Linked DNA regions of Homo sapiens: all the other regions are linked to region 1. The links are contacts of gene promoters, found by promoter capture Hi-C in blood cells and fetal thymus (Javierre and others, 2016). All regions are on one chromosome and are shown on one strand. Each heading gives the region's core, a stretch centred on a gene start or on the middle of the fragment in contact. The rest is flanking DNA. Distances are from core to core; before and after follow the strand shown. Region 1 overlaps TRIP13 (thyroid hormone receptor interactor 13). Region 2 holds the start of CEP72 (centrosomal protein 72). Region 3 holds the start of SLC9A3-OT1 (SLC9A3 3' UTR overlapping transcript 1).

The links. Contacts are between HindIII fragments. The CHiCAGO score rates a contact against its expected background, and 5 or more counts as called.
Region 2: a contact is called between the fragment with the promoter of CEP72 here and a fragment that was not itself captured in region 1, in 15 of 17 cell types (megakaryocytes, total B cells, naive CD4 T cells and 12 more). The highest score is 10.7, in megakaryocytes.
Region 3: a contact is called between the fragment with the promoter of SLC9A3-OT1 here and a fragment that was not itself captured in region 1, in 2 of 17 cell types (M2 macrophages and endothelial precursors). The highest score is 7.7, in M2 macrophages.

Annotation. Positions count from the first base shown.
Region 1 is chr5:900,254-903,428 of GRCh38, reverse strand. TRIP13 (thyroid hormone receptor interactor 13) reads right to left here. Exons shown (of 13, transcript NM_004237.4): 4 at 2,880-2,935; 5 at 1,998-2,088. Among named protein-coding and RNA genes, the nearest start is that of TRIP13, 9.0 kb to the right of the region's middle. RefSeq lists a silencer at 41-335. The HindIII fragment of the contact is 227 bases long and covers 1,142-1,368 here.
Region 2 is chr5:610,756-613,768 of GRCh38, reverse strand. It overlaps CEP72 (centrosomal protein 72), which reads right to left and starts at 1,429. Exons shown (of 12, transcript NM_018140.4): 1 at 1,326-1,429. The coding sequence starts at 1,407. CEP72-DT (CEP72 divergent transcript) reads left to right here and starts at 1,559. Exons shown (of 3, transcript NR_103444.1): 1 at 1,559-1,617; 2 at 2,016-2,322. RefSeq lists enhancers at 646-1,575, 1,576-2,506. The HindIII fragment of the contact is 7,839 bases long and covers 736-3,013 here.
Region 3 is chr5:471,335-474,394 of GRCh38, reverse strand. SLC9A3-OT1 (SLC9A3 3' UTR overlapping transcript 1) reads left to right here and starts at 1,430. Exons shown (of 2, transcript NR_024158.1): 1 at 1,430-1,716; 2 at 2,430-3,060. SLC9A3 (solute carrier family 9 member A3) reads left to right here. Exons shown (of 17, transcript NM_004174.4): 17 at 1,013-3,060. The coding sequence ends at 1,016. It overlaps SLC9A3-AS1 (SLC9A3 antisense RNA 1), which reads right to left and starts at 1,159. Exons shown (of 7, transcript NR_125375.1): 1 at 996-1,159. RefSeq lists silencers at 452-1,271, 1,392-1,461, 1,822-1,951 and enhancers at 1,195-1,835, 1,836-2,478. The HindIII fragment of the contact is 27,849 bases long and covers 1-3,060 here.

The sequences.
Region 1 (3,175 bases), core at 6-2,505:
ACTCTTTATTCCAATATTATAATAATCCTTGCTCTACAATCATAACCTAGGAAAAACCAGGCCATACAGAGATAGGAGCTGAGGGGACATAGTGAGAAGTGACTAGAAGACAAGAGTGCGAGCCTTCTGTTATGCCTGGACAGGGCCACCAGAGGGCTCCTTGGTCTAGCAGTAATGCCAGCGTCTGGGAAGAAGCCCGCTGCCAAGCTGACCGTGGTCTAATGGTAGCGTCAGTGTCAAGGAAAAACACCTGCTACTTAGCAGACCGGGAAAGGGAGTCTCCCTTTCCCCCGGGGAGTTTAGAGAAGACTCTACCCCTCCACCTCTTGTGGAGGGCCTGACATTAGTCAGACCCGCCCGCAGTCATCCAGAGGCCTGTCTCCCTGTGATGCTGTGCTTCAGTGGTCATGCTCCTAGTCCGCCTTCATGTTCCATCCTGTACACCTGGCTCTGCCTTTTAGCTAGCAGTAGCAAATTAGTGAAAGTACTAAAAGTCTCTGATATGCAGAAATAATGGTGTAAGCCGTCTCTCTGTTTCTCTTCTCTCTCTCTGCCTCAGCTGCCAGGCAGGGAAGGGTCCCCTGTCCAGTGGACACGTGACCCACGTGACCTTACCTATCAGTGGAGATGGCTCACACTCCTTACCCTGCCCCTTTGTCTTGTATCCAATATATATCAGCGCAGCCTGGCATTCGGGGCCACTACCGGTCTCCGCGTCTTGGTGGTAGTGGTCCCCCAGGCCCAGCTGTCTTTTATCTCTTTGTCTTGTGTCTTTATTTCTACACTCTCTCGTCTTTGCACATGGGGAGAAAACTCACCAACCCTGTGGGGCTGGACCCTACAAAAGATGCCTCACAGAAGCTGCGAGGTGACCAATATGGAAAAAGGAAAGCATCTAACAGAAAATGGAGACATACAACTCTAATTTTCTGCAGGTATTTTCAAGAATTAAAGAGGAAATACGTAACTGGTTCCAAACAGAAACAACTTATTTCACTAATTAAAACACCTGCTGCTTACTCTGACTGTGCTATGAGGGCAGTATGCGGGGCCTGTCTGCTCTTTAAAAGAACATTGTGTTTTAAGGTCACTTTGTCACGCAATCTTAACTGACTTAAAGAAGCCAAGTACCCTTCAAGCTTCTATTTAACACTTGGCTACAGTTTCATACTCTCGAGTCCACTCAATTCCCGTGTCCCCATTCTACCCGGTGATATTGACAACAAAACAAAACAAAACCAAACAACAAACCATCAGTATTTTCTCCTGAGAAGAACCAGACAGAATTTCTTTAAAATATGGCTTTTTCAGTTTACTCCTCACAAAGTAAAGCTCTGAGTACTACAAGCCTAATTTATAAGTTAAGCTTTATCATAGGAATGTCTGTAGGAAAAAATAGTCTACATAAGGTTTAGTATTATCCACGTTTGGGGCATCTGAGGATGTCTTGGAATGTGGCCCCCCACAGGAAGACTTGATTAAGTGCCGAGTAATCAATGCCCCAGGGGCCGCGCGCGGTGGCTCAAGCCTGTAATCCCAGCACTTTGGGAGGCTGAGGCGGGCGGATCACCTGAGGTCAGGAGTTTGAGACCAGCCTGGTCAACGTGGTGAAACCCCGTCTCTACTAAAAATACAAAACTTAGCTGGGTGTGGTGGCGCATGCCTGTAATCCCAGCTACTCGGGAGGCTGAGGTAGGAGAGTTGCTGGAACCTGGGAGGAACCCAGGAAGTGGAGGTTGCAGTGAGCCGAGATCGGGCCACTGCACTCCAGCCTGGTCGACAGCGAGACTCTGTCTCAAAAACAAAAACAAACAAACAAACAAAAAATGTCCCAAGTGTCATGAGCTGGATCTGCTTCACAGAGAGGGGACATTCTAGGACAGCTGTGGCTCCTTCAGAAAACAAAGAGCCGTAACTCCTTGCAGAAGGACGAAGGTACAAGTAAAGGCTAAATTTCATGCCACTTATCTGGTCAAATAAAAGCCTGCATAATTTACCGTGGAGCAGCACCACCCGGTTCCAGGTGATGAGGTTGCTGTTGACGTTCTTGTCTGAAAACAGTAAAGTTGTCATCACATAATCGAGGAGCTGATAGAGAAAAAGAAAAGAGCTTGACAAAGATACCAACAAGGCAAAGGTCCCCAAGAAATGTGCCCTCCCCCAGGGCTTAATCCTACATGAGAAGAGGGAGCACAGGGAGCGAGGCCGCCTCCTAAGAGATCATCACCTCCAAACGCTTTCATTTCAGAAGAGAAGGTGCTTCCAAAAGGGAAAAGGAAAAACACTGGCTATTACTATTATAAATATAAGAAGAGCAACAAAATGATCACTTTTATTTAAAGTGCCAACATTAAACAAAACCACTAAGGGGTTTGTTTATCAAGTAATGAGTAAGCTCCTTCCCTAGAATGATACAGCAGTTATTATTCGCAAAATAACAACAGCCACAATGCAGAGGAGCAGTCTGAGTGATAGTCTCAGACTATCAATGCAGAGGACAGCTGAGTGATAGTCTTCTAGCCAGCTGCTGGCATGGGAAAGACCCTTCCCGTTGAAGAGGGTGCAGGGGTTAAGACACACCGGCCTTTCCTTTGTGCGGACCAGGCTTGCTCACCTTCCCTCCTCCCATCTCCAGAGGGTTTAATTCTCTAAGTTGCCTTCACGTTCTCCCTTTCCCTCTTCTCCCTCAGGGAGCTCCTCAGAGACCAGCTCTACTCTGGAGCAATACTAGAGGATAGATGTCCAGGACAAGGGCTGCCAGCAGACAGGGGCTCCCAAAAACCCATCTGCATCAAGTTGCTCAGGGGTGTTGGAGAGCAAAACAGTAATGGTTCCTCTTCAAATAACAGGGCATTCTGGGAAAAGGCACAGCAACTTACATGGGATTTGACTTCCACATCGTATACCAAGCTGTCCCAAAGCCCATGGAATTCAGCTGTGACAGAATTAAACAAAGACCTGATTTCAGGAAGGCAAGCAATTACAGCCACCCCCAGTCAGTCTCCCCTGAGCCTAAGCCTGAGCTTCCCATTGTGCTGCTCCAGGCAAGACTATGATTCTGATTACAGGAAAGTATAAATTCTGCAAATTTTTCTTCAAATTTTGATTTTTATTAAAATCAAAGATGCAAAATAAATGCCAGTCACATGTAACTTCTGGCAGACAACTGGATGGA
Region 2 (3,013 bases), core at 180-2,679, 290 kb after region 1:
AGTTTCCACACCCTGATAATTCCATGGCCCTTACCTCCACCAACTGACAACACCAATCTTCCAGCTCCTCACAGTCCTGTTCCTCTAAAACCCCCAGCTCAGGCTGGGTGTAGGTGGCTCATGCCTGTAATCCCAGCACTTTGGGAGGCCAAGGCAGGTGGATCACCTGAGATCAGGAGTTCAAGACCAGCCTGGCCAACATGGTGAAACCCCGTCTCTACTAAAAATATAAAAAATTAGCCGGGCATGGTGGCGCGTGCTTGTAATCCCAGCTACTCAGGAGGCTGAGTGAATCACTTGAACCTGGGAGGTGGAGGTTGCAGTGAGCTGAGATTGTGCCACTGCACTCCAACCTGGACGACAGAGTGAGACTCCGTCTAAAAAAAAAAAACCGCTCAGATCTCCTTGGGGAGATGGATTGAGGCCTCCTTCCACCTCCCTGCTGGGCCCCTGCCAGCCTTAAACTCTTTCTCTGCTGCAAACCCCACTGTCTCAGTGTATTGGCCTGTGGCCCCCACAGCACCTGACTGAACCTGTTGGTCCAGTAACACCTGCAGACCACACACAGACATTAACAGGCTAACAACAGAACACCAGAAACAACTCAACACACACACTCCACAAGTTAGCTCAAATAAGCCAATGCCACAAAACCCCACACAGCCAAGACTCGCGGTGAACTAATATGAACGGTTCTCTAACAACCAGAGATACAGAATTTGTCATTTAAAAGCTTCAAAAACAGAAATTGACATGTCCATATGGTTTCACTGGAAAATTCCAGGAAACATTCAAACAATGAGCACACACTCTACAGAACCTCTTCTAAATATAAGAGAAGGCAACACTTCTCAGCAGTTTATGAGCTCGGCTTCACCTTGACGCCAAAACCAGACAAAAATAAGCCAAAAAGAAGGAAACCGGCCACCAACATCCTCAAGAAGGCCGAGCGCAACAATCACCACAGAGTGGGCCCAGGAGAACCAGGGAGGTGATCCCCAGCGGGAGGGCGGGCTGCGCTCCTGGACAGCAAGGCCGGCTCCCTCTTCTCAGCGGATGTAACCCCCAGTCACGGAACCAGTGACCCGATAGACAGGCAGGGGCCGGGACGCCGGGACCCGAACGCGGGCAGGGGCCGCACCTGGGCACGGGGGGTGGGTCGCTCACCTGGACACGCGCGCCCCGCTCGCCCGCGACCGTTCCGGACGCCCGCGGCGCCTGCGTAGACGGGTCCCGCCTGCCCACGGTCCGCCGCCGCCCCGGGAAGCTCGGCACCCACCCCCCCGCCACCTCACGCTTGCACCCCCGCCCGCCCTCCGGCGCACCCAGGTCGCGGTGAGGCCCTAAGCCGCTCTTCGCCCGAACCGCCTCCTCGCTCAGCACCAGCCGAGGGCCAGCCCGCGCCATGTTTCAAACGGAGCCCTCGGACGGCGCCTGCGCGGCGGGCGGGGCGAGGCTACGAGAGGGGCGGGACCTGCGTCGGCAGAACCGAGAGCCTGGCGGGACGGGGCGGGGCCTGCGCGGCGGGGCGAGGGGCGTGGCTGGGGGAGGGGGCGGGACTGCGTGGGCGGAACCAAGAGCCTGGCGGGGGGTTCTCCTGAATGGCGGTTCTCCCAGGTACTGGCCACGCGACCCCAGCCCCCGCCCCAGATAGCTCCCTGTCAAGGCTTCCCTGGGCGCGGCCGCCTTCTAGGCCCCGGCCCTTGACACACGCGGTGTCCTCCCGGGGAAACCCCGAGTAGGCGCGGTGGAATCGCGGCTGGTGGTGGGCATGGGGACCCTGCCCCATCCACACTCCGCTCCCACCCTGAACCCAGCGCCCCCGGGGACCCCCGACTCACCTAGACTCCCCACCCAACCCGACCCCCCCGCGGGGACCCCTCCAGACACCCCAGCACCCGCCCGGAGCCTTGTCTGCTGCACCTCCCGTCCAGCCCCGGGCCTCCCAGAGGTGGGCGGGAGCTGAGCTTCTCCCCAGCCAGTCACTCCCCACGGCCGGTCCTTCTCCACCCCAGAACCTCCAGAGATGTCACAGGCCCAGCACTGTGGCTCGTGGCTGACCGCGCCCTGGAGGGTCTCGCTGTGTTTATCCTTGTGAGGTCCTTCTACAGAGCTTTCAAGGAAGACAGAGTTCAGCCTGTTTATTGGGAAGACTTTAATCCTGCTCAAGACATCTACTGTGTCACCGTACCACTGTGGCCCAGCGCCTGGTGGAGTGAATCCAGACCCCCAGGGGTGTCCCCTCCCCGCCTTTCTCCTGGTGTCTAGGGGCACCCAGAAACCCTCACCCCAGATTAGACCAGCTCGTTGGCAACATCCCTGGTATGTCACAGCCTGGGGGGTGATAGACAAGGCAGGGTAGTGGTGGGGGGTACGTATGGTGGTAGTAGACGAGGGTATACACAGACAGAGGGTGTACATGGGGAATGTGTGCAGGGGCTGTGTGCAGGGAGTGTGTGTGGATGGTGTAGGGGAGTGTGTAGGGGAGTGTGTAGGGGGTGTGTGCAGAGGTTGTACACGGGGTGTGCAGGAGGTGTACTCAGAATGTGTTCAGGGAGTGTGTGCAGAAGGTGTACATGGGGTGTATGCAGGAGGAGTGTGCAGAGGGTGTACATGTAGGGGGTGTGTGCAGACAGTATACAGAAGGGGTGTGTGCAGAGGATGCACACAGGGTCTCTGCAGGGAGTATGTGCAGTGCTGTACATAAGGAGTATGCAGGGGGTATATACAGGGTGTATGTGCAAGGGGTGTGTGCAACAGTGTGTGCAGGAGGTGTGTGCAGGGTCTATGTGTGGGGGTGTGTGCAACAGTGTGTGCAGGAGGTGTGTGCAGGAGGTGTGTGCAGGAGCTATGTGTGGGGGTGTGTGCAACAGTATGTGCAGAGGTGTGTGTAGGGGCTATGTGTGGGGGTGTGTGCAACAGTGTGTGCAGGAGGTGTGTGCAGGAGGTGTGTGCAACAGTGTGCAGGGGGTGTACACAAGGTGTGTGCAGGAGGTGTGTGTAGATGTGTGTG
Region 3 (3,060 bases), core at 181-2,680, 430 kb after region 1:
CTCCCCGCCTAACCCCTCTCCGCAGCTCCTCTCCCTCCAGGTCTCCGCCTCGCGCGCGCTGTCTCTCTCCTCCCTGGACCTGAACCTGGCTCGCTCTCTCTCTCTCCCCGCCTAACCCCTCTCCGCAGCTCCTCTCCTCCAGGTCTCCGCCTCGCGCGCGCTGTCTCTCTCCTCCCTGGACCGGAACCTGGTTCTCTCTCTCCCTCCCCGCCTAACCCCTCTCCGCAGCTCCTCTCCCTCCAGGTCTCCGCCTCGCGCGCTCGCTCTCTCTCCTCCCTGGACCTGAACCTGGCGCGCTCTCTCTCTCCAGCAGCCCCTCTTCCTCCTCTAGCGCCCTGCTGGCCGCACCTCCCTCAGGAGCCCGGACAGAGATACTCTGGCGTCTCTGCTGCTCCCACGGAGCTGAGGGCACTAGGGCCGCCTGAGATTTCCTTTAGGTGGCTCCGAAAGCTAGTCCGCGAGTCCAAATCCTGCGCTCCCAGGGAGCTGAGAGCAGGGCTGGGGGAAGCCAGACAGACGCCCCGGGTCCCCGACCCTCTCACAGGGATACAGGGAGGGCCGGCCCCGCAGACCCGGACTCTGCCTCCAGCTCAGAGCAGGGAGAGGGGCGGGCCGTGGGGTCTGGGCTTTCTGAGCTCCCTCTGGGGGCCTGGGAGGCACCCGGGGGACGCCAGGGCGGTTTGAGATGGAGGAAGCAGGTCCCCTTGGGGACCTTGACCTCCCGCGCTGCAGGGCCTGGGGCGGGACCTTCCTGCGCCGAGGAGGCCGCTGTCCCGGGACCCCCGGCGGGGGGACGTGGCGGGGCCGGGCTGGGGCTTCGCTGTTGCTGCTTCCGCCTCTGCCCCGCGAACCCGGGTCCTGGGAGGAGGCCCCAGCGGACGCCGAGCCTGGGGTGCGCCGCGGGAGGGGAGGCGAGAGCCGCCGGGCTCGGGGACAGCTGAGGCCCCCGGGGACGCCCCTCCCGCCCCAGCGCCCGGGCTCCGCGCGCCGCTCACGCCTTCCTCTCCCGCAGGTGACACCGGCTCCGACACGCCGCTAACCGGCCGCTCGTCCCCGCGCCACGGTCCGCCCACCGCCGCCGCCGCTGTCCCAGAGAAACCCCAGATCCCCGCGCGGCTACAGCGACCGCGAGCCCCGAGCCCCGCCTCGCCCACGCCAGCGCCTGCGCAGAACTCCGAGAGTGCCGCGCCTGCGCCCGCAGAGCCGCCCGAGGGCGAGCCGGGGGCGGGGCCTGCGCCGGGGGCGGGGCCGGAGCGCCGAGGGCTGCCGAGTGCGCACGCGCGTTCGGCGGCGGCGCGCCGCGTGCACAGCCGGCGCTCGTTCCAGCGGCCTCGCGCGCGCCGCCGCCCCGCGCTGCTGAAGCTGGCGTCGCTGCCGCCCTCGTGCCACGCACCGCCGCACGCGCTGGAGCAGGAGGAGACGCCGCTGTGACGCCGCCGGCGGGAAGGGTCCGCGCGCCATGGCTGGCCGCTCGCGCCCTTTCCCACCGCTGCCGGGAAACCGAGGCTCGCCCCAAACGGATTTGCGTGAAACCAGCCCAAGGTTCCGGGCCCCCCCAACCGAGCCCCGCGCCCGGGGACTGACTCGGGGACCGACTCAGGGACCTCCCGAGCGCCAGGACTCAGGGCCCGACCTGCAGCGGCTGCAGGCCCAGCGCCCGCAAGCGGCCTGGGCCGAGCGCCGTTTCCAGGCCCTCGCCAGGTCTTTGAACTGCAGGTAAAGTGGCAGGAACGTCTTCCGTCTGCTCAGCGTTTGGGGATTTAGACTCCTAAAGCCAGTACCTGCCCCGTTTCCCCCCCAGGTTCCGTCCTGCCCGCGCCCGGTCTCAGGGTGGCGGCCCCGGACACGGCCCGTCCCCACAGACGAGGTCTCCGGCCTGAGCTGTCGCACCTGGCGCGGAGGTCGCCCGGGGTGCCCTGGCTGGGTGAGAGGTGGCCTGGCGGGCGGAGCTTGCCAAGAATCACGGCCAGTCCTTAAGTGGATGGTGGGGCCCAGCAGCTGCTCTGTCCCCCTTAACAAACCAGGGGGCATGGAGGGGCCCAGGGCACCGCCCCCCTACCAGGCTCAGGCCCTCCAAGGAGAACCTGCTGAGACCCCTGAGCCTGTCCTAGACCCCGGACCCCTGACCCTTCCCACCCCTTCCAGCGTCCCAGGGCGAGGCCTTGGACAGAGCTCCTGGTCCTCTGCAGGGAGACCATCCAGCCCAAGCTCTGGGAGGCACAGTCCATTGAGTGGGCGGAGGCCGCGGGTGCTGAGCCGGGGAGGGTGCTCGGAGTCCATCCATCCCTCAGACGGCAAGTCCCACAGGGTCCAACCCACCTGAAACCTGCCTGCACGGTGGAAGTGGTGGAGGTGGACACTCCTAGGGGCTTTTCTAAAGCTAGACTCGCAGCTCCTTGCTCAGGAAAATTAAACTATTCACGTTTCAGATCAAGTGTTGACAGTCACCAGTCAGGAGGAGTTCTTAAAGAGTTTTATGTTGACTGAATATTGCACATTGAGTCCCCATTGAGTCCCTGGTGGGAAAAGTCCACAATTTCCCATTGATAGCTTTTTACTGTTGTGAAAAAGGGAAGCGTCAGCCACACAAAAGCCTGCATGACCGCTGCTTCGGAGAAGCTCTCGACCCTAACTGCAGTCACTGTTACTTGGATCAGATCAAGCGCAGTGACTTTTTGGGATTCAGTGGTTATTCTCCACACTTCGTAGCCATTTCAACCAACTCTGAGCACAAAATGCAGCCATCCTCTATGCAGCAAGCCCTGCCCAGTCAGTGACCCTACTGGACAGATCCAAGGCCAGCCCTGGTTCCCTGCTGCAGCCACCGTCCTGACGTTCATCGGAGCAGGCCGGGGCCTGGCCTTCCCGGCACAAGTGGCTGTTCTGACAGGCCCCCAGTTTGTCCCATCTGAACTGCTGGGAGGTTTCCGGGTGGCCAGAGGAGCAAAGCTGCCTTCCAAGTGCCTGTCTGTGCCTGGGAGAACAGAGCAGGAGCGTCGTGCGGTCCACCGCGCAATGCATGGCGATTCCAGGCGCTGAACAACTCCCCTGGACCCTTGG